Linked DNA regions of Homo sapiens: all the other regions are linked to region 5. Evidence: promoter capture Hi-C in 16 types of primary human blood cells and fetal thymus (Javierre and others, 2016). All regions are on one chromosome and are shown on one strand. The core of a region is centred on a gene start or on the middle of the fragment in contact, and the rest is flanking DNA. Distances in the headings are between cores, read along the strand shown. Region 1 overlaps ABCC6 (ATP binding cassette subfamily C member 6). Region 2 overlaps MPV17L-BMERB1 (MPV17L-BMERB1 readthrough). Region 3 holds the start of BMERB1 (bMERB domain containing 1). Region 4 overlaps ABCC1 (ATP binding cassette subfamily C member 1 (ABCC1 blood group)). Region 5 holds the start of MYH11 (myosin heavy chain 11). Region 6 overlaps ABCC6 (ATP binding cassette subfamily C member 6).

Region 1 (3,799 bases), core at 189-2,688, 310 kb before region 5:
ATCTGTCTGTTCAGCTGTTCATCCATTCATTGATCTTTCCATCCATTCATCCACTCATTCACACACCTACCTACCTACCCACCCGCTCATTTATTCACCCACCTACCCTCTCATCCATCCAGCAAACATGTACACAATACCCACTATGTGCCAGGCTAAGTCTGGTAGAGATTAGACACTAGTGAGGATAGACGGAGAGTAAATAATTATGCTAATAAGTAAGCTATGTCCAATAACAATAAGTGCTATAAAGAAAATAAGAATGATCAGGCGCAGTGGCTCATGCCTGTAATCCCAACACTTTCAGAGGCTGAGGCAGGAGGATTGCTTGAGGCCAGGAGTTCGAGGCTGCAGTGAGCTATGATCATGTCACTGCAATCCAGCCTGGGTGACAGAGTGAGACCCTGCCTCTTAAAAGAAAGAATGATGAAATAGAGACCACTGAGAAACCCTACCATGGTTGGTATGGACAGGATGCTCTGAGAAGTGACATTTGAGCTTCCCCAAAGAATGTGTGAAGGAACCAGTCATACAAAGGGCAGGAGAAAGAGCGCTCCAGGCAGAGAGAGCAGCAGGTGCAATGGCTCCGAGGTGGGAAGTAGCTTAGGGTGCCAGAGAAAGGGGTCCCATGAGGCTGGCAGGCAGTGAGTGGGGGCGAGATAAGAAGCTTGGAATTTCTTTCTTTCTTTCTTTCTTTCTTTCTTTCTTTTTTTTTTTTTTTTTTTTTTGAGACAGAGTTTCACTCTTGTCGCCCAGAGAAGAGTGTAATGGTGCAATCTCAGCTCACTGCAACCTCCACCTCCTGGCTTCAAACGATTCTCTTGCCTTAGCCTCTCGAGTAGCTGGGACTACAGGTGCCTGCCACCACACGTGGCTAATTTTTGTATTTTTAGTAGAGACGGGGTTTCACTACGTTGGTCCAGGCTGGTCTCAAACTCCTGAGCTCAGGTGACACACCCGCCTTGGCCTCCCAAAGTGCTTACAGGTATGAGCCACCCCTCCTGGCTGGGATTTCTTCTAAGAGCAAGAGATAGCCATGGACAGGCCAACGACAAGATATAATTAGATTAATGTTTTCAACAGTCCCGTCTGGCTGCAGCTGTGCAGAGAACTTCAGATTTGTAGGAGCAGGACCTTAAGCCAGTGGCTGAACCTCTCTGTGCCTCAGTTTCCTTATCTGTGAAATGGAGGTTGTTATAAGGAGAGACACATGCCTGACCTATGGTGGGTGTTCAAGAAAACCCTTCTAGCTGGGTGTGGTGGCTCACACCTGTAATCCAAGCACTTTGGAAGGCCGAGGAGGGAGGATCACTTGAGGCCAGGAGTCTGAGACTAGCCTGGGCAACACAGCGAGATTCCATCTCTTTAAAACTATGAAAATTAACAAAACATGGTGGTACAAACCTATAGTCCTGACTACTCGGGAGGCTGAGGCGGGGGGATTACTTGAGCCTAGGAGTTCAAGGCTGCAGTGAGCCATGATCATGCCAGTGTACTCCAGCCTGGGTGACATGGGCGACAAAGCAAGACCCTGTCCTCAAAAAAAAAACAAAAGAAAAAATATTAATACTAGCTCCCTGGGGATTGTATAGGAGATGGGGGTTCTAAGGCTGGCTGGGGCCTGTCGGGGAAATGGTGCTTCTGGTGGGAGGCACAGCGGGAGAACCAGTGAGGTCTGCGTGGTGGTCCCATCTGCCATGGGCATGTTTTCTGGGAGCCTCGCCTGGCCTTGCCTCAACCCACCCCTCCCACTGGGGGCTCTCTCTGCCTCCCTCTCCCTCATGTGTGCTACAGGTGAAGGCCACAGTGCACCTGGCCTACCTGCGTGCCGTGGGCACCCCCCTCTGCCTCTACGCACTCTTCCTCTTCCTCTGCCAGCAAGTGGCCTCCTTCTGCCGGGGCTACTGGCTGAGCCTGTGGGCGGACGACCCTGCAGTAGGTGGGCAGCAGACGCAGGCAGCCCTGCGTGGCGGGATCTTCGGGCTCCTCGGCTGTCTCCAAGGTACGCCTCACCTGCCCTCCTCATCCCTCTCCTCCCAGCTGCACCAAGGGGTGCTCAGGACTCCTTTACCCCACCCCTCCCTGGGTCACCCTGTCCCCCTGGAACAGTGTGCAAAACGTCTGGGGTCCAGGCAAAGATCTGCGTCCTTAAGATGAGGCTGGAGGGAACGGGAAGGACAGGGCACATCCCTCCTTTTCTGGAAGCTTCAGAACCTCTCCCAGTCCCTCCCCACTAGCGGAAGGCGTCTGCAAGGCCTGCCTGCTGGTGGCTTTCAGTGCCTGCCCCCAAACCTCCAGACAGAGCCAGACCCTCCCTAACAAATGCATCACCGCTATCACTCCTTCTTCTCCTCCTCAAAAATGGAAAGACTTCTTCTTGAAATAATTGTAGATTCACATGCAGTTCTAGGAAATAAGGCAGCCAGCTACCTTGAACAGTCTGCCCAGTTTCTCCCATTGGTGATATTTTGCAAACTGATAGTAAAGTATCACACAAAGGATCCTGACACCCATCAATCCATGGATCTCAATTATTTATTTATTTATTTATTTGTTTATTTTATTTTGAGACAGAGTCTTGCTCTGTTGCCCGGGCTGGAGGGCAGTGCTGCCGTCTCGGCTCACTGCAACCCCCATCTCCGAGGTTCAAGCAGTTCTCCTACCTCAGCTTCCTGAGTAGCTGGAAGCTGGGATTACAAGTGTGCAGCCTGGTTAATTTTTGTATTTTTAGTAGAGATGGGGTTTCACCATGTTGGCCAAGCTGGTCTCGAACTCCTGACCTCAAATGATCTGCCCGCCTCGGCCTCCCAGAGTGTTGGGATTACAGGTGTGAGCCCCCGCACCCGGCCCTATGGATCTCATTGTGATTTCCCCAGTTTTGCTTGCACGTGGGTGTGCGCATGTTTGCCTCTGTGCAGTCGTATCCCCTGTTCAGTCTCTCGCATCCATCACGATGGTTGACAGTTGAGATACTGAACAACCCCCTCACCACGAGGCGCTCTCGTGTTGCCCTTTTGCAACCACACCCACCCTTCTCCTGCCTCGCCCACCCTGTCCCCAACCCCTGGTTCTTCTCCTTTTAATACGTGGCCTGGCTGAAGGGAGTAACAGGAGTGCACATGTGAGTTTGGCTTCTTATTTATACACACACACACATATATATAGACTGGGTCTGGCTTTGTCACCCAGGCTGGAATGCAGTGGCACGAACTCGGCTCACTGCAACCTCTGCCTCCTGGGCTCAAGCAATCCTCCCACCTCAGCCTCCCGAGTAGCTGGGACTACATGCACATGCCACCATGCTGGCTAATTTTTGTTTTTGATAGAGACGGTTTCGCCGTGTTGCCCAGGCTGGTCTCAAACTCCTGGGCTCAGGCAATCCTCCGCCTCAACCTCCCAAAGTGTTGGGATCACAGGCATGAGCCACCACGCCCGGCCTGGCTTCATCTTTAAAGGACAGTTGCCTCGTTTTCATGTTGATTCGTCCTCATTCACTGGGTGACATTGGCCACATCACCAAAATGCTGTGAGCCTGTGACCTCCCCTGTAAAATAGGGGGCGCCAGGCCTGAACTTGAGGACTCTTCTAGTCCTAAGAACCTGTACACCTACTCACCACAACTGCATGTACAGTGGAATACTCAAGGCGAATGGTTACTTAACCAAGAGGAAATTAGGGATTCTCAGAGTCAGCCGAGCCCTGGAATTAACCCAAATCCTCATTTGGGTGGCAAATAGCCCTTTCAAAATCCTTCCACTTCCATCCCTCATTTGATAGCTAAGGGCAAGTCTTACTCTCC
Region 2 (3,845 bases), core at 243-2,742, 440 kb after region 5:
AATGTTTACTGCCCAATATTTCTGTGGTTGAAAATGTACAGTCTAATTTTGATCTGCAGTAACATCTAGGTTAATGCTGATTCAGAAGGAAAACATTTGTTGTTGCCATGAGAAGAGGCATTGAAACTCTGAATCACCACCTCAAATGCTACCACTATTAATATAAGTAGATACATAGGAAGATCGAATTAGACCATCTCGGACCACCAGGTTTACAATTCTACCAGCAGATACATGCAAGAAGTATTGTCACAGTACTTATGTCACGTTATTCCATTGAGGTCATCACCAACTAAGCTTATAATTAATGTGTGGTCAATTTGGTCAATGTCACCAGCGTAGCATACTAACAAAAACAAGAGTTGCAAACACAAATGCCTATAAGGCAGAATGTAAGATGGTAGGAAGCAAAGTCTATAGGGAACTATACAATAGAGGCTGCAGATTCAAGGCACATTCTAAAGCACAGCAGTCCCCAACATTTTTGGCACCAGGGACTGGCTTTGTGGAAGACAATTTTTCCACAGGCAGCAAGGGATGGAGCGCAGGATGGTAATGGTCTTGGGATGAAACTGTTCCACCACAAATCATCAGGAATTAGATTCTCATAAGGAATATGCAACCTGGATCCCTTGTGTGTGCAATTCACAACAGGGTTTATGCTCCTATGAGAATCTAATGATGCTGCTGATCTAAGAGGAGGCAGAACTCAGGCAGCAATGCAAGCAATGGGGAGCGGCCAGAAATACAGATGAAGCTTCAATTGTCCACCCACTATTCACCTCCTGCTCTGTGGCCCAGTTCCTAACAGGCCACAGACCAGTACAGGTCCATGGCCCAGGGATTAGGGACCCCTGCTGCGGCACATTGCTTCATAGAGGACTGTAGCAGGCATGTGCCCAGACGTTTCCTTTTTTCTTTTCTTTTTTCTTTTCTTTTTCTTTTTTGAGACAGTCTGGCTCTGTTGCCCAGGTTGAAGTGTGTGAGTGTGATCGTGGCTCAACCTCCCAGCCTCAAGCAATCCTCTCGCCTCAGCCTCCCAAGTAGCTGGGATTACAGGCGCACTCTACCACACCCAGCTAATGTTTTTGTGTTATTTGTAGAGATGGCGTTTTGCCATGTTGCCCAGGCTGGTCTGGAATTCCTAAGCTCAAGCTGTCTGCCCATCTCCGCCTCCCAAAGTGCTGGGATTGCAGGAGTGCACCACCACACCTGGCCTGAAACCCAGATTTTATATATTTATTTATTTGTTTATTTATTTATTTTTGAGATGGAGTCTCGCTCTGTTGCCAAGGCTTGAGTGCAGTGGCGCAATCTTGGCTCACTGCAACCTCCACCTCCCTGGTTCAAGCAATTCTCCCACCTCAGCCTCCCGAGTAGCTGGGATTACAGGCACATGCCACCACGCCTGGCTAATTTTTGTATTTTTAGTAGAGACAGTTTCACCATGTTGGCCAGGCTGGTCTCGAACTCCTGACCTCAGGTGATCCACCTGCCTCAGCCTCCCAAAGTGCTAGGATTACAGGCATGCACCACCGCACCCAGCCTGAAACCCAGATTTTTACTATGAAATCAAAGTCTTCAAACCTTCTAGGTGTCATAAAAAGCACGCTGTGGACCATTAGTTTGCAACTGCCAACCTAAAATATCATAGACAGATAGGCAGATCACTTGAGGTCAGGAGTTCAAGACCAGTCTGGGCAACATGGTGAAATCCCATCTCTACTAAAAATACAAAAATTCGCTGGGTATGCTGGCACATGCCTGTAGTCCCAGCTACTCGGGAGGCTGAGGCAGGAGAATCGCTTGAACCTGGGAGGCGGAGGTTGCAGTGAGCCAAGATCATGCCATTGCACTGCAGCTTGAGCAACAGAGTGAGACTCCATCTCAAAAAAGATAAAAATAAAAATAAATTCTCCGTAGGATGGTCCTTTCTCTTTTCTTCTCACAGAGACCAGAGAGGATCCTCCGCTACCATCCTCTCTAAAGCAAGGCTGTTGAGTCCTTAAGTGTAAGAAGTGTAATAAGCCCTTAGCCTTATTACAATTATTCTGCCCTCCTGGAATGTTCAAGTGGTCATGGCACGGGCAGGGGGTGAGAGGAGAGAGCAGTGGGTTTGGTTGGGTTGTGGACAAAGAAAGAGGAAGGAAGAAAAGGATGAATAAAGATGTAGTTAGAGAAGGATACACTTAACAAAGGAGAAGAGAACTAGGAAAAGACAAGCTTTTACTTGATATATACCAAAAATGTTACTCAGTAATTACTGCCTTCTATTCACAAGGTTAGCTACAGTTCACAGATCTTCATGTGTTCCTAACCTTTCAACTCCAGCACATACTTTATCTTCAAATTCCAGATTTCCCTTTTTATGTATCAGCTGTTGAAAGTATTAAAAGAAACTTTTTCAGTCATTTTAATTGCATTAGCAGTGATTTAATTTTTTTAGATGCTAAACCTTATGGGTGAAAGTGGATTAAATGTAGCCAAATGCAACATCAAAATCTTCAGGCACAAAAACCCATTAACTTTTTAATACTCTCAGAAGATGAACCTAATTTCAAATGAAAGCTGCCTCCAGAATATATTGTTAAGCATATCCTAGATATAATTCATTCTAGCAAACATTCTGTAGAAATTCACATAACATTTTACTGTACTAAAAGTAAATTTCCCATGTAACAAAAACTATCTTTTCATAACTTCAAATGAATTTTAAAGGATGACTGACCGTCCTTGGAAGAGAAACAGTAAACAAATAAGGTTTATAGCAATGATGTATGAGTTAGAAATTGCAGTTCCAGGCCGGGCGCGGTGGCTCACACCTGTAATCCCAGCACTCTGGGAGGCAGAGGCAGGCAGATCACGAGGTCAGGAGGTTGAGACCATCCTGGCTAACACAGTGAAACCCCGACTCTACTAAAAATCCAAAAAAAAAAAAAATTAGTGGGTCATGGTGGCGGGCGCCTTTAGTCCCTGCTACTTGGGCTGAGGCAGGAGAATGGCGTGAACCCGGGAGACAGAGGTTGCAGTGAGGCGAGATCGCGACACTGCACTCCAACCTGGGCTACAAAGCGAAACTCTGTCTCAAAAAAAAAAAAAAAATTGCAGTTCCAGATAATCTCTCTATTAAAGAGACTGTCTACACTTAACTTGGTCAATTGTAGTGAACATAGTTGATGTGAAGTCCCCATATAAATACAACCTGAAATACCAAAGTTAATTTACTTTTCTTTCTTTTTTTTTTTTTTTATAGACACAGTCTTGCTCTGTTGCCCTTCCTGGAGTGCAGTGGCGTGATCTCGGCTCACTGCAACCTCCACCTCCTGGGCTTGAGTGATCCTCCTGCCTCAGCACCCCCAAGTAGCTGGGAGGACAGGTGCAAGCCACCACACCCGGCTAATTTTTGTATTTTTGGTAGGGATAGGGTTTCACCACATTGCCCAAGTTGGTCTCAAACTCCTGAGCTCAAGTGATCCGCCCGCCTTGGCCTCCCAAAGTGCTGGGATTACAGGCATGAGCCACCGGGCCCAGCCAGAAAATTATAAACACGCACAAACTCTCAAGTGGCCTAATTCCCTCTCATCAAACCAATCACAATACAAATAAAAGAGAATAACTTATATTAGTTTTTGTACAAACAAAAAAGACTGATAAATTGTGAATGATGCATGATTTTTAATTACAAGTAAACTGGGCATATGCTTCTGCATTATTTAAAGCTAAAGGGTGATCAGTGGAAATTTTCTTCTGTTAGTACTTTAATACTTTTTATATTTATCGGCTCACTACAACCTATGCCTCCCAGGTTCAAGCGATTCTCCTGTCTCAGCCACCTGAGTAGCTGA
Region 3 (3,608 bases), core at 767-3,266, 420 kb after region 5:
GACTACAGTCAACAATTTATTGTACATTTAAAAATAACTAAAAGAGGGCAGGTGGGGTGCCTCACACCTGTAATCCCGGCACTTTGGGAGGCCAGGGCAGGCCGATCACCTGAGGTCAGGAGTTCGGGACCAGCCTGCCCAACATGGTGAAACCCCATCTCTACTAAAAATACAAAAGTTAGCCAGGCATGGTGGCGAGCACCTGTAATCTCAGCTACTCTGGAGGCTGAGGCAGGAGAATCGCTTGAACCCAGGAAGTGGAGGTCGCAGTGAGCCGAGATTGTGTCATTGCACTCCAGTCTGGGCAACAAGAGCGAAACTCCGTCTCAAAAAAAAAAAAAAAAAAGCTAAACTAAAAGAGTATAATTAGTCACACAGCTGGGCTTTTTTAAAAAAGGAGTGTAATTGGATTGTTTGTAACACAAAAAAAAGGATAAATGCTTGAGGTTTTGGATACCCCGTTTACCCTGATGTGATTATTACACATTGTATGCCTGTATCAAAATATCTCATGTATTCCATAAATATGGACACCCACTATGTGCACTTAAAAATTAAAGAAAGAAACAGAGACCCTCAGCCCTGACGCCCTGATATTATGCCAAAGCACCAAGTCATTGGGTCTTGAAAGGATGAACTAGAAAGAAAGACCAAGGTTAAAAAGGGAGAAAAAAAAAGAAAAGGAAAGAGGTTGGCAGTGCTATGACATCCATCCTAGCCCATGAACCACTAAGACATTGGATTGTGATTTCAACTTCAACCCGTCAGAATCAGAACACAGTTGAGCCCTTCTAGGAAGATTTTCTAAATCCATAATTACAGGTATAGAGAAAGAAAGCGCGCACACACAATTTTCCACCAGGTGAGGACAGAATAAGATCACATTCACAATACTTTAGCCCTACATCGCTCAGAGATCCGTGCTGGGGCAGAGCGCGGAGCAGTGACCCAGAGCCGAGGCAGGAAGCTGCCGGGTCCCTGAGAAGGACCTCTCCTTCCCAGCCTGGTGGGCAAGCCATGTGAGAGCAGCGGCTTTGGGGAGCCCCCGGGTTTGCAGGGACCTCCAGTGACCCTGGAGCCCCTGACGCTGCCTCTACACTTTGAGGGCAGGAGTTTCAACTATTGTATCCTATTAATGAAAAACAAAATCCTTCGTTTACTTAGAAATGTTGACATCCAAACACCGCAGAGAGAACCAGTAAATAAATACAGCCGGTCTATTTCGAAACTGCCTTCTAGAGTTGTGCCCAAGCAGACTTTAACTGAGTCAAGAGAGAAAAGAGAACGGTGTGTGCCTTTTGACCCTTTTGCCGCCCCAAGCCTCCCACCCCGACCCAAGGAAGGCGAGGGAGGAAAAGCTGGGAATTTCAGGTGCGCTCCGAAACCTCACGCAGGGGGTAGGAAAGCAAGCGGAAAACCAGCAGACACTCCCCCCTCTCCAGGGACGTGGGCGCTTTCCAGGACGGTCCCGCGTCTCCAGCGCCCTGGCGCATCCCAGGCGGAGAGAGGATCCTCCTCCCTGGGCTGTGGGAGAGACCCGACTTCACAGGACCAGCTGCGAGCTGACGGATCCGGGACTCCTAAGTCGAGCCCAGGCTCCTGCCTTAGCTGCCTGGCCATCTCCCAACCCTCCCAGTGAGGCTCAGCCCGGAGGGTCCCCCCCTTTTGTTCGCGGGGAGAGCGCGTCGCTGCGCAGAGCTGCGTATCCCCCTGAGCTGCCAGCCCCGCTGCGGGGGCGCTTCCCTGGGTCCACTGCTGGCGTTCCTCGCGCTCCCGCGACCACCCGCGCAGGCGCATGGATCCCCAGCTGTCCCCGGCCCCCCGCCCCCCGCCCCAGTACTCACTTCTCCCCAGTCTCTCCGTTTTCCAAGCCGTCTCCTCCACCGCCCCATAGCGCCTCAGAGGCTTCTCGGCTTCCAGATGGGTGGACAAAGATTGCTTTAATTCCATCGCTGATCCCCGTGGCCAGGTCGACGGGTCTCCCTTTACTCCATTCCCGTTGCGGGCTGCAGGGAGGGAGGTGGCTCCAGCCAGCAGCGTTTTAACGGGCCGGGCGCCCGTGACGCTGCTCCCTCTCCTCCGCCGCCGCCAGCGCCCGGGAGCGCCTACGGGTACCCAGAAGGGGCAGGGATGCACGGCACATGCGCAGTGGAGGCTTGGAGGGGAGGCTTGGGGGCTGGGTAGGGAGACAGAGGGGCAGGTGATAACTCTAAGAAAAACAACAAACAAAACAACTAAAATAAAAGCAACACAAAGGAAGTGAGAACAAGGCCCCTGCCTATTCTAGAGCCCCTAGTGATGCTTGGCATGGGGCTGGCACTGTGGGCGGCTTGCGAGCTGTAAGCCGGCAGCGGGTTTTGAGTGGGATTGGTGAGCCCGTCTCTACCTGCGGGCGATGCATCCGTCTTTCTGGGGAGCATGCAGAGGCGTGAGTGTGGACCTAGATCTATGGGTTCTGGGCTTGGCTGACTGCTTTTCTGTGAGAATATCTGTCGTGTGCGTCTGTTTAATTTGAAGTGCGACAGTGGATGCCTATGTCAGTTCCATATGTGTTTGCATGCACTTTGGGGAGAGAGAGAGAGAGATGAAAATATTTTGCACACAGGTATAGCAGAGCTGTTTGGAGCATGGGGCTTTACTTTCCAGAAACCCCAGAGGTTTATCTTTAAAAACAAACAAACAAACAAACAAAAAACACCATGGCAGTGCCTGGGCACGATGGCTCATGCCTGTAATCCCAGCACTTTGGGAGGCCGAGGTGGGTGGATCACTTGAGGCCAGGAGTTTGAGACTAGCCTGGCCAACATGGTGAAACCCCATCTTTACTGAAAATACAAAAATTAGCCAGCTGTGATGGCGCAGGCCTGTAATTCCAGCTACTCGGGAGGCTGAGGCAGGAGAATCGCTTGAACCTGGGAGGCAGAGGTTTCAGTCATCCGAGATCATGCCATTGCACTCCAGCCTGGGCAACAAGAGGAAAACTCCGTCTCAAAAAAAGAAAAGAAACGAAAAAAAGAAAATGATATCCCAGTAGGAAACAGGGAAAGAATATGAATAGTCATGTCATGTGGGCAGAGGAGGAAGGCCTAATGTGAGAAGCTGCTCAACCCCCTTAGTAATAAGGAAAATGAAAATGTAAATAAGAATATATCATCCGATAGGCAAAAACTAAAAAATCTAACAATCATGTGTTGTAAAAGATGTGGATTTTTTTTTTGAGACAGAGTCCAAAAATGCTGGGGTTACAGATGTGAGACACCATGCCTGGCATAATTTGAACTTTTATCTAATGCTAGTGGGAGTATAAATTGGTACAACTGTTTTTTTCTCTCTGTCACCCAGGCTGGAGTGCAGTGGCATAGTCTCGGCTCACTGAAACCTCCACCTCCTGGGTTCAAGCTCCTGAGTAGCTGCGACTACAGGCGTGCCACCATGCCCAGCTAATTTTTTGTATTTTTAATGGAGATGTGGTTTCACCATGTTGGCCAGGCTGGTCTCGAACTCCTGAGCTCAAGTGATCTGCCCGCCTTGGTCTCCCAAAGTGCTGAGACTACAGGAATGAGCCACTGTGCCTGGCTGCATGAATGTAATGTTTATTGTTCTCAGGT
Region 4 (3,892 bases), core at 1,231-3,730, 280 kb before region 5:
GGTGCCTGAACCCCAGCACTTTGGGAGGCTCAGGCAGGAGGATCCCCAGAGCCCAGGAGTTTAAGAACAACCTGGGTAACATAGCAAGACCCTGACTCTATAAAAATTTTTAAAAATTAGCTGGGCACATGCCTGTAGTCCCAGCTACCCAGGAGGCTGAGGCAGGAAGATTGCGTAAGCCCAGGAGTTTGAGGCTGCAGTGAGCTATGATCGTGCCACTGCACACCAGCCTGGGCAACAGAGTGAGACCGTGCCTCTAGCAAAAAAAAAAAAAAAAAAAAGGGCAGGGGGAGGGCAGGATTTTCAAGGATCGTTCTGGCCACATGTGATTTCTGCCTCGCCTGTGTCTTAGAACCTGACCGAGGCTACGAGTACCGCACACATCACTGCTCACAGGGTAAGTACGATCAGCCTCATTTTACAGACAAAGCAAGTGAGGCACAGAGGCTGAGTGACTTCCCCAGGGTCACAAGAACAGCAAATGACAAGAGCAGGACTCAAGCCAGGGTCTGTCCAACCCCAAAACCTGGGCTCCGTCCACCTTGCGGCTGTCCCGCCTTCCCACTAAACCCCATCTGACTAGTGATCTCTACAACTTGCCCTTTCTGGCAACAGCTCCCACTAGAGGCGACTTGTTGTCAAAAGGAAAGAACAGAAACAGGAAGATGCCACATCCTGACCCTGCAGAGGACATGGCTGGAACCCTCGCCGAGGCCCCAAAGGAAAGGGAACCATTCTTTAGAAAGAAATAAAATATATAGATATATATATATTTTTTTACTGCAAATGTTCGCATTTCCAGTGTAAGTCATTACAAAAGGATCCCCCAAAACTTAGTTTATCTAATGTGAAAGAATGGTATAACTTACAAAAAATAAATATATGCGTTTTCGCCTAAAAGAAAGATGCTCTCTGGGTTTGAAGTCGGCGGCGTAATTCTTAGCAAGTCTGAGTCTTGGGGCAGCCTCAGCTCTGGCTGCCTTCCGGATTCCACTTTGGGCTCTAACGAGACACCTTAAAGAACAGGCTTTAAAAGATGCTGCTTCCCTGTTTTCTTCCAGGAACACAGAGACCAACACGGTTTCAAACACAGGGCGAGCTTCTCACTATTTCCTGGGAATGTTACTTCTCAGCCCAACACTTCTATTCCCAAGAAGTTCAAGTTTTGAGACTGTTTTTCTCCCCGGAACAGTACTTAAAAAAAAAAAATCATTGATATTCAAAGATGGGTTCTTTTCGTGTCCTGGAAGAGCATCAGTAACTAAATATCAAGTTCTCCACAATGCTGCCCCCCCTGGGGGGCTAACCGGATGCCAAGGGAGAGAATTAACATCTAAAAACAAGGAAAAGACTCAAGGGGACATTTTTTTGGTACCCACTGGTAATACTTGGGAGGTATTTCGTGTTCTTTACTTTGAAAGCTTCATAACCATGAGCAGGTACCATGAGAGGGAAAGAAAAGAGGTGGTAAGAAAAAAGAACAAAATCAATCAACACTGTAAGCAACCAACACTGCTTTGGGCCAGGCCCCTAACACATTTTTCTGCTAGGACTGGCATAGTACCTTCCAGCTGGTTGCTCACTCTCAGTCTCTATTTCTAGTCAAGGTCAAATTCCCATGAGGCCATCTCCTTAATATTTACCCCACATCAATCATGGTGGGAACAGTAATAACAGCATTGATTGTTCTTACAATGTTGAACAAAAGAAAAAAGGGAAAGCCTGGAGTCGGGGTGGGTGGGGAGGGAAGCCCCAGGTGGAACGTCGGCCCTGAGACAATCCCCTGGCCCTACAGTTCCAGGTCCAGGTTAGCCGTTAGTCCAACCAGGTCCCTTCCAGGAGGACAGGCGTGGGAGTGCAGAGGCTGCCTCTGGCCCAAAACGAGAACTGGTAGAGCTGGCGCTGAGATGCTGGTTCCCAGCTTTTGAGTGCCTGGAAGACCAGATGTTGGTAAGAGGACCATCCAGGGCCCTGGGACACTGCCAAGGGGAGAAAATGATTTTCTCCAGGCCCCTCAACCACAAAACTGCAGCCCCAAGGAAATGAAGCGTTCCTGGTAGACCCAGACAAGGATGTTAGAGGTGATGGGAGCCAGAAGCATCTCAAAGACTTGCAGTCCACAGACTTCGGCTGGAGAGATCCGAGGCAGTAGGCTGAATTTGGTCACTAGGATCTTCTATACAACCAATTCCTCCAGAAGTCTGGCTGCCAAAACTCCTCCGTGGGAAGCACCAGGAAACCACTTGCATTCCTGGGGGCGTGAGGCTGTGTGTCTGTCTCAGGGCACCAGGGGCAGGGTGTGCGTGTTTTGGGTGGTTCGCATCTCTGTCTCTCCTGGGTCTTCACAGCCAGTTCCAGGCAGGGGACCGGATGGCGGTGGCTGCTGCTTTGAATATGTTTTGGTTGTCTGGGTTTGGTTTTTATGTTTTGGTTTCAGTGTGGGAGGCTTGGTTTACCAGGGGTACTGACTCCTCCCTGGGCGCTGGCATATAGGCCCTGCAGTTCTGACCAGATATGCCAGCTCTGGGGCTCACACCAAGCCGGCGTCTTTGGCCATGCTGTAGAAAAGACCTCTCTGCTGCAGGAGGTCCGATGGGGCGCCGTACTCCTGGATTTCTCCTTTGTCCAAGACGATCACCCTGAGGGAGAGGGGATACAGACATGAGGGGAAGGGGAGGGGTGAGCACCTCGTGCCCCTGGGACAACTGACCTGGGCAAGTCACTGCTTCGGGTCAGGCCCCTAACACTTTTTGCTAGGACTGGTGCAGTACCTTCCAGCTGGTTGCTCACCCTCAATCCCTATTTCTAGTCAATGTCAGATTCCCATGAGGCCAGCTCCTTAATATCTACCCCACATCAATCATGGTGTGAATGGTATTAACAGTGTTGACTGTTCACATTCACTGTTCCATTACATTCAGAGTAAAATAAAAAGATCTTACCACAGTCTACAATAACGATTGGCAACATTTTTCTGAAAAAGGCCAGATAGTAAATACTTGAGGCTCTGCAGGCCATATGCTTTCTGTTACAACTACGCATCTCTGCTGTATTTATAGTGTGAAAGCTGCCAGAGACAACAGGAAAATGAACAGATGTGGCTGCGTGCCAATAAAACTTTATTCATAAAAACACGCAGGGGGCCAGATCTGTGGCCTGTGGGCCATAGTTGGCTGACCCCTAATATTTTAGGTCCTGTAAGATTTGACACTGCCCACTTCTGTCCTCATTTCTATGTCCTATATTTCAAAAGCACCAACTCAGCATCTGCCACTTAGTAGGTGGTACTCAGTGAACTAGAAACATCATGTCAGCTGGGTGCAGAGACTCACGCCTATAATCCCAGCACTTTGGAAGGCTGAGGCAGGAGGATCACTTGAGGCCGCAGTGAGCTGTGATCCCACCACTGCACTCCAGCCTGGGCGACAGGGTGAGACCCTGTCTCAAAAATATATAAAATAAAATAGAAACTCATGTCACTTCCCTGCTTAAAACCTTCCAATGGCTTTATAGGGCTCTTAGAGTAAGTTCCAAGCTTCTCACCGTGGTTACATGGTGCTCTAAGATCCAGCCCCTGCCTACCTTTCTGGCCTAATCTCCTGCCCCTGTCCACTCAATTCCAACCTCTAGGTACATGGCCTCCTCATGCTAGCCTTCAAATTCATTAAGCGCATTCATTTTTACATTCGGCTGTACCGGCTGCCTAGAATGTTCTTCCTTTAGATCCAAGGTTGGCAAACTGTGGCCTGCAGGCCAAATCTGACCCCTTGCCTGTTTTTATGAATAAAGTTTTATTGGAACATAGCCATGCTCATTCATTCGTGCACTATCTATGACTGCTTTCACACGGCAACACTGGAGTCAAGTGGCTGAGAGGCCATGTGGCCCACAA
Region 5 (3,444 bases), core at 804-3,303:
TACAGGTAGGGAAATTGAGGCATGGAGAGGCAAAGTTACTTGCCCATGGTCATATAGGTAGAAAGCAGCACTGGCAGATTCAAAGCCAGACATCTACTCTCAGATACACGCCCTGGGCCTCAAGGCCAGTTTGCCTGGGCATTTCCCTTTAATGTCTCCTCTCTGGAAGTGAATGGTGTCATCAGAAAGGTTCCAGTGCCAGCACCAATCAATGACTGTCCCAGTGAGAGCTTGGTCAAATCCCTTTACCCCTGCAGGGACTCAATTTTCTCACCTGCAAAATGGGGGTATTAATAAAGCCACCCCCCGCACCCCCGGCCCCCAGCCCCTCCACCTGGTTGCAAGAGGAGTGGTTGTAGACTAAGGGCCTGCGTCAAGTACAGAACCCAGGAGGGGTCTGCCCAACTTTAACCCTCTCTCCAAATCCTCTAGCCTGAAGCAGCAGAAACCCACGTGGGACTGGGGGCTGCCCCCTTCCGGGCCTTCCCCAAGCAGAGGGGTCCCCATCTAGCCCCGCGGGGCAACGGCGGCCGGTGGCTGCGTGAAGGGCCCCCTCCCCCGACGCCGGGGAGCAGGAAGGCCACTCGGCACCATATTTAGTCAGGGGGAGCCGGCAGCCCAGAGCTGGTATGCGGCGCTGGGAATTCCTGCAGGAAGGAGTCCGCGCCTGCCCTTTTTGGGTTGTCTCCCGCCCGCCGCTCCCGCCGCTCCCGGGGAGGGGGACCGGCCCGGCCCGGCCCGGCCCGGGAACCTCGGAGGAGCTGGTGCCGCGCGGGGAGCGGAGCGCCCGGGCTGCCCGCGGGTCCCCGGCCTGGCGCGGGGCCAGCCCACCGCCTCGACTTCCTTTTATGGCCTGTGTGTGCGTGCGTGGACAGGAGCGGGGAGGGAGGGACGGGGAGAAGACGGAGAGCCTGGGGAAGAGAGAGAGAGAAAGCGCAGAGATAGGAGTGAGACACGCGGGAGAGATGGAGAGCAAGAGACACAGAGACCAGAGACAAAGTGAGACAGGAGGGAGAGACAGATACATCGACAGATCTAGAGAAGCGAGAGGGACAGAGACAAAAGATAGAGCGAGAGACAGCAATGATCAGAGTGACAGACATGCAGAGACAGTGGCAGAGACAGAGCGAGAGAGCCTGTGATGGAGAGAGACAGGGAATGCAATTTTAGGCGAGGAATCCTTGGGGAAGGGAAGTTGTTGAAGGGAACTCGCAGACTCTGGGGGCACACCCACTTTCTCCTTGGATCTTGACACTTGCATCTTGTAAATAACGTAATTATCACCGCCACCGCCTTCCCCCATTTTGTAGCTATGGACACCAAGTCTCAGAGAAGTGAAGTGACTTGCCCAAGGTCACGCAGCTGGCGAGTGGCGCACAGGGGAGGGGGACAGCTGAAATAATCACAGTGGGCTTATTTTTAATTTTTATTTGTATTTTGGTCGTGGTGATGTGGGTGGAGGTGGAGATGGCAAGTTGGGAAAAGTAAAAACTTCCCCTTCCTGCACGGTTCCCAGCAAGGGTGGGGGCCTCCTGTCTTGCACTTTGCAAAGTTCAAGAAATCCCCTTTCCCTACCCTTCACGCTGCACAGCCGGCCCTCTTTCCAGACAGTGCGATGCCAATAAAATGGGAAGTGGGGTGGGAGATGTCAAGTCAGATCCACCACAGCCCCGACACGGGGAGGAAGAGGTTAAAGCCTTTGCGGCCGGAACCGACTCAGGGAAGACGTTCTCAAGCATCCCGCACAGACACTGCCTGCTCGACCCCCTTTCTCTAGGGATCCGGAGCGTCTGCGACCGCCTGGGGCCGGGGCTGAGACTCCCGTCCCTGTGCGCACCTGTTCCGTGCGCCCTTGTGCGGTGCGCACCTGTTCCGTGCACCCTTGTCCCGAGCGCCCCAGCTCCTTGCGCTCCCGCCGGGGGTGCGCCCTGCAGGGGGCGCGGCGAGGGGGCCGCGAGGGACCCTCCCCAACTCCACCCCTTCGGCCTCCTCCCCTTTCCCAGCCGCGGGCAGCTCCGGGTCTATAAAGAGAGGCGTCCGAGGACGCGCAGGGAGATTTGGACGCTCCGGCCTGGGAGGTGCGTCAGATCCGAGCTCGCCATCCAGTTTCCTCTCCACTAGTCCCCCCAGTTGGAGATCTGTAAGTAGTAGTTGTCATTCTGGGGGCAGATTGCAGGGCAGGGGGGTGTTAAAAGTCCTATAGGGTATTCTATAGGGGCTGGGGTGCACTTAGGGGTCCCTGTTGTCAACCTCGTAAGGGCCATGGTGGGGGCAGAGTTGTGATTTGGATCTCTCTCTGCCTTATCGTCTTAGATTATCCTAGACTTTCCCCAAACAGCATTTCTTAAGATTGCCAGTGAGAAGTACCATTTTGGGGGTGCTTATTAACGATATCAATGCCTGGACCCAACTCCATTTCCCAACTCTAGAATCCCCAGAAAAACTGCCTTAAAAAAAAAAAAATTAGTCCCGAGTGATTCTTGTTAAGAGGCTAATCCAGGAGATATGCTCCCTTGGAAATCTCAGAGGTCCGGTGCAGACAATCAAGGCATCTCACTTTTATTCTAGGCACCAAAAAATTTACAGCTGAACTTCACTGAAAAGTCACTTGCTATCACACAGAAGGGCAAAGTGAGGCTCCTTGTGGATTTGACCGTATTGCACAGTTGTGTTGATAATGCATTAAATCAGTTAAAAACACATGGGCATAGGCTTAGCAGAAAGGAGTGTTGTTGTTTTTTTTTTTTAATCAGTTTAGGGGAGGTTCTTCTATGTTGAGAACCCCTGGGAGATAAGGCTGGTTGTGATCTAGTTTGTTACAGCCCACTTTTTCCTCTTCTCCAAATTAAAAAAAAAAAAAACAACTCACCCAGGTTGACCCCAAAGGGCCCCCAGATACCCAGGTGGGCTCCAAAGTCTCCATTTGCTTCCACGATCTGCAGGTGCGTTAGGTAAGATTACACTAGAATTTCCCGCAGAGCCACCTGTGTCAATGCCACTCTCGTGCCCAACCAAATGGGTAAAACGAGAGAAAGTGTGGCTACTGCCTGTTGTAAGTTTTCTTCCAGCACAGGGTCTGGTAGGGATTTTGCCACTTGAGAAAAGGTACCATCCAAAGCCATGCTTGTCAAGAAGTAAAAGAAAATATTTAGAAACCCAAGGTGGGAGTGTTTAGTTGCAGTATGAAGAACTGAGAGATTAAATGGTGAACTGTCCGTCCGGGGTTTGGCAAAAAGAATGCAGGCTATTAATAAACTGCTTTGCATAGTTTTTTGTTTCTTTGATTTACTCAACGATACTATTTTAGAATTGTTCAGAGACGGAACTTGACGCTGAACTGAAAGTCATTAGGTGGCAGGGTGTGAAATAAGATAGAGAATTTTGTTTGAAGGAAATTGATGTTTTCCCTTTGAGATAGCTACCGTTGATGGAACACTTCAGTGC
Region 6 (3,800 bases), core at 1,052-3,551, 330 kb before region 5:
TAGAGCCCTCAAGTGCTGCTCCTGCCTGCAACTTTAGAGTCATCTTCCAAGGGACTCTAGAATCACAAGTTCCACCACGTCTAGAACAACAGGGCTACCAAGATCAAAAACTCTGCTGTCCCCCGATGCCTGGAACCTAGAGGCATTAGGTTCTCCCCTAGGTTCTAGTGATGCCTAGAGCCGTGGGGCTGCGCACTCATCACCATTAGCAATGCGCTGTGTCTTTAGAGAGAGCCTTATGTAGCTTATGACTGCGGAGAGGACATGTGTTAGCAGGACTGGGAGTGGGATCTACGGAGGGAAGCACATGCGGACATGGCGGGTGGGCCACATGGACCGTGCAGGCACCACAGCTTGCCCAGGCTGCCCTATCCATGCTTGCGTGTCTCACTGTTGCCCCACGTGTCCCCCCCACCCCCCAGGTCGCACTGGTGGTGTTTGCTGTCCACACTCTGGTGGCCGAGAATGCTATGAATGCAGAGAAAGCCTTTGTGACTCTCACAGTTCTCAACATCCTCAACAAGGCCCAGGCTTTCCTGCCCTTCTCCATCCACTCCCTCGTCCAGGTGAGGTGGGTGCAAGGGCTGGAGCCATCCTGGGAGAGTGCGTGGGCTACACCTGGCTCCAGCTTCCCTACCCCTGCCATTTGCAGAGGAGAGGGAAGACAGAGTGGGAGGGAGAGGGATGGTGTGGAGCTGGAAAAGAGGCGGGTAGGGGCAAGAACAGAGGCGGGCAGAGAGTACAGCAAATACATCTGGAAGGGGTCAGCCTTTGGAGGGCAATGTGCAGACCTTTCCACACACACCTCAGAACATGCATACTTGTCCATCTGCCCAGCAATTCCACATACAAGCAATCATGTCAGTTCCCTTTTTTATACAAAGCGATTTTGTTTCTCTTCCTTTGCTATCTCTAGTCCTTTCAGCATGGTGAAAACAAGAAACGGCGGCATACCTGAGCCATCTCCATGTTTTTTATTTTTTATTTTTATTTATTTATTTATTTGAGATGGAGTCTCACTCTGTCACCCAGGCTGGAGTGCAGTGGTGCAATCTCGGCTCACTGCAAGATCTACCTCGCAGATTCAAGTGATTCTCCTGCCCCAGCCTGCCAAGTAGCTGGGACCACAGGCATGCACAACCATGCCCAGCTAATTTTTTTTTTTTTTTTTGTATTTTTAGTAGAGATGAGATTTCACCATGTTGGCCAGGCAGGTCTTGAACCGCTGACCTCAGGTGATCTGCCCACCTTGGCCTCCCAAAGTGCTGATTACAGACATGAGCCACTGCACCCAGTCTTATTTATTTATTTATTGTGTTTTTAGTAGAGACAGGGTTTCACCATGTTGGCCAGGCCAGGCTGGTCTTGAACCCCCGACCTCATGTAATAAGCCCGCCTCAGCCTCCCAAAGTGCTAGGATTACAGGCATGAGCCACCGCGCCTGGCCGCCTTATTTATTTATTTATTTATTTATTTATTTATTTATTTAATTTATTTATTGAGACAGTGTCTCACTCTGTCACCCAGGCTGGAGTGCAGTGGCACGATCTCAGCTCACTGCATGCTCAAACTCCTGGACTCAAGTGATGCTTCTACCTCCCAGCCTCCTGAGTAGCTGGGACTACAGGCATGGGCCACCACATCCGGCTAATTTTTTTAATTTTTTGTAGAAACAAAGAGTCTTGCTATGTTCCCCAGGTCTCCAACTCCTGGCCTCAAGTGATCCTCCTGCACTTGGCTTCCCAAAGTGCTGGGATTACCGGCATGAGCCGCTGCACCTGGCCTAATCTCTATTTTAACGACTGGTCTCTTTCTTCCCCAAAGATGGGTTTGTGACTGGGAGAGAGCGCCCCCAGGTGGACAACATTTGAAATTGTTCCACACAATGGCTTGATAACCTTATTGGAAAAGCCACCATCCTCTTCCCAGATCTTGTCTGCAGAATGGCAGCTGGCTTGCTTCGGTGTCACTGATTTGTAGGATCGCAGAGGTGGGAGATCACCACCATCAAGGTCACCACTCGGGTTGCATCGTTTCCCATGAACTAGAAAGCTTTGTCCTCACGCCTCCTATGCACAGAGCTTGGTAGACAGGAAGCTGTTGCCACACATCTTGAGACACCGACACCCAAAACCTGAGTTCTTTGCTCTTCTTGCTGGGTGACCTGCGGCTTCGGTTTTCCTAGGCCCGGGTGTCCTTTGACCGTCTGGTCACCTTCCTCTGCCTGGAAGAAGTTGACCCTGGTGTCGTAGACTCAAGTTCCTCTGGAAGCGGTGAGTGCTGAGTCTGGCAGGAGGGGTGTGGGAGGGATGGGGGATGTGGGGGCCACCCCAGCCCATAATGGCAAGCCAGCATCAGTACTGGGGGGAGATGGGGGCTGCGGGCAATGGATGACACGTGCAGATCACGCCATCTGCGTGTCACTTGGAAACTGGCACCGTGCTGCTCTTCTTTCTGCTAGCCATTCAGCGACCACTCACTGAGCGCCCACTTTGTACCATCCTGGGTGTACAACAGGGAACACTCTAACACAGTGGTCCCCAAGCTTTTTGGCACCAGGGACTGGTTTTGTGGAAGACAGTTTTCCCACGGACCGGGGAGAGGCGCGTGGTTTTGGGATGATTCAAACACATTCCATTTATTGTGCCCTTTATTATTATTACATTGTACTATATAATGAAATAATTATACAACTCACCATAACGTAGAACCAGTGGGAGCCCTGAGCTTGCTTTCCGTCAACTAGATGGCCCCAAAGCGGGTGATGGGAGACAGAGATCATCAGGCATTAGATTCTTATAAGGAACACGCAACCCAGATTCCTCACATGCACAGTTCACAAGTGTTCGTGCTCCTTTGAGAATCTATTGCTGCTGCTGATTTGGCAGGAGGTGGAGCTCAGGCGGTGATGGGAGTGATGGGGAGTGGCTATAAACACAGATGACACTCTGCTCACCTGCCCTGCGCTCACCTCCTGCTGTATGGCCCAGTTCCTAAGAGGCTGCAGACTGGTACCAGTCTGTGGCCTGGGGGTTGAGGACTCCTGCTCTAACAGACCAGGTCCTTGTCCTCATGCAGAAAGTCCCAGGTAATAAGCATGACAGCATTTTGATCAAGCTGGAAAATAGCAGCATTTCAAGCACCATTGCACGATGAGACTTACCAAGCTCAAGTTACCTGGGCTTCCCCCTCCACCCCATCCTTCTTTTATGCCACGGGCCAAGACACCCTCCCCCTTGTTGCACTGAAGAACCTGGGCAAACTGTGTACCTGGAAAACACCCACATAGTGGTAAGAAGCCGAGCCTGTGGCATTCAACTGCCCAGGTCCAAATCCCAGCCCCAGCACTGACTAGCTGGGTGATCCTGACAAGTAGATCATCTCTCTGAGCTTCCGTGTTCCCATCTCCAAAATGGGCATGTTAATCGTTATAGCAGCTAATTGTGACGATGAATTTAATTGATCTGGGCTAAGCCATGAGAGCTTTGATTTTTAGAAAATCTTTCAGGCAATTCTAACTACGTCTTAAGGATCAAGAACCACTAATCTAATTACACTTGTTATCACAGTGAAATAATAATAATAATTAGTAGTAGTAGCAGTAGTATTTTTGAGACACAGTCTTACTCCGTCATCCAGGCTGGAGTGCAGTGGTGCAATCTTGGTTCACTGCAACCTCCGCCTCCTGGGTTCAAGCAATTCTCCTGCCTTAGCCTCTCAAGTAGCTGTGATTACAGGCGCCCACCACCACGCCTGGCTAATTTTTGTATTTTTTGGTAGAGGCAGGGTTTTGCCATGTT

Evidence for each region. Contacts are between HindIII fragments. The CHiCAGO score rates a contact against its expected background, and 5 or more counts as called.
Region 1: a contact is called between a fragment that was not itself captured here and the fragment with the promoter of MYH11 in region 5, in 3 of 17 cell types (erythroblasts, endothelial precursors and megakaryocytes). The highest score is 7.9, in erythroblasts.
Region 2: a contact is called between a fragment that was not itself captured here and the fragment with the promoter of MYH11 in region 5, in 3 of 17 cell types (neutrophils, M2 macrophages and endothelial precursors). The highest score is 6.1, in neutrophils.
Region 3: the fragment with the promoter of BMERB1 here is called in contact with the fragment with the promoter of MYH11 in region 5 in 3 of 17 cell types (neutrophils, monocytes and M2 macrophages); the score reaches 7.2 in neutrophils.
Region 4: a contact is called between a fragment that was not itself captured here and the fragment with the promoter of MYH11 in region 5, in 16 of 17 cell types (endothelial precursors, megakaryocytes, M0 macrophages and 13 more). The highest score is 27.2, in endothelial precursors.
Region 6: a contact is called between a fragment that was not itself captured here and the fragment with the promoter of MYH11 in region 5, in 10 of 17 cell types (megakaryocytes, endothelial precursors, erythroblasts and 7 more). The highest score is 16.1, in megakaryocytes.

What each region holds. Positions count from the first base shown.
Region 1 is chr16:16,167,849-16,171,647 of GRCh38, reverse strand. It overlaps ABCC6 (ATP binding cassette subfamily C member 6), which reads left to right. Exons shown (of 31, transcript NM_001171.6): 22 at 1,795-2,002. Among named protein-coding and RNA genes, the nearest start is that of ABCC6, 54 kb to the left of the region's middle. The HindIII fragment of the contact is 1,538 bases long and covers 670-2,207 here.
Region 2 is chr16:15,411,835-15,415,679 of GRCh38, reverse strand. All of the region lies in intron 1 of MPV17L-BMERB1 (MPV17L-BMERB1 readthrough), which reads right to left. It overlaps MPV17L (MPV17 mitochondrial inner membrane protein like), which reads right to left. Exons shown (of 4, transcript NM_001128423.2): 4 at 2,409-3,845. Among named protein-coding and RNA genes, the nearest start is that of MPV17L-BMERB1, 18 kb to the right of the region's middle. RefSeq lists a silencer at 3,293-3,510. The HindIII fragment of the contact is 1,466 bases long and covers 760-2,225 here.
Region 3 is chr16:15,432,996-15,436,603 of GRCh38, reverse strand. It overlaps BMERB1 (bMERB domain containing 1), which reads right to left and starts at 2,016. Exons shown (of 6, transcript NM_033201.3): 1 at 1,845-2,016. The coding sequence starts at 1,950. The region is part of intron 1 of MPV17L-BMERB1 (MPV17L-BMERB1 readthrough); the gene reads right to left. RefSeq lists an enhancer at 1,090-1,712. The HindIII fragment of the contact is 15,111 bases long and covers 1-3,608 here.
Region 4 is chr16:16,139,920-16,143,811 of GRCh38, reverse strand. ABCC1 (ATP binding cassette subfamily C member 1 (ABCC1 blood group)) reads right to left here. Exons shown (of 31, transcript NM_004996.4): 31 at 759-2,639. The coding sequence ends at 2,531. Among named protein-coding and RNA genes, the nearest start is that of ABCC6, 82 kb to the left of the region's middle. The HindIII fragment of the contact is 2,114 bases long and covers 1,424-3,537 here.
Region 5 is chr16:15,855,637-15,859,080 of GRCh38, reverse strand. MYH11 (myosin heavy chain 11) reads left to right here and starts at 2,053. Exons shown (of 41, transcript NM_002474.3): 1 at 2,053-2,140. RefSeq lists an enhancer at 506-1,007. The HindIII fragment of the contact is 5,018 bases long and covers 1-3,444 here.
Region 6 is chr16:16,185,597-16,189,396 of GRCh38, reverse strand. It overlaps ABCC6 (ATP binding cassette subfamily C member 6), which reads left to right. Exons shown (of 31, transcript NM_001171.6): 13 at 423-566; 14 at 2,186-2,273. Among named protein-coding and RNA genes, the nearest start is that of ABCC6, 36 kb to the left of the region's middle. RefSeq lists a silencer at 2,824-2,997. The HindIII fragment of the contact is 493 bases long and covers 2,055-2,547 here.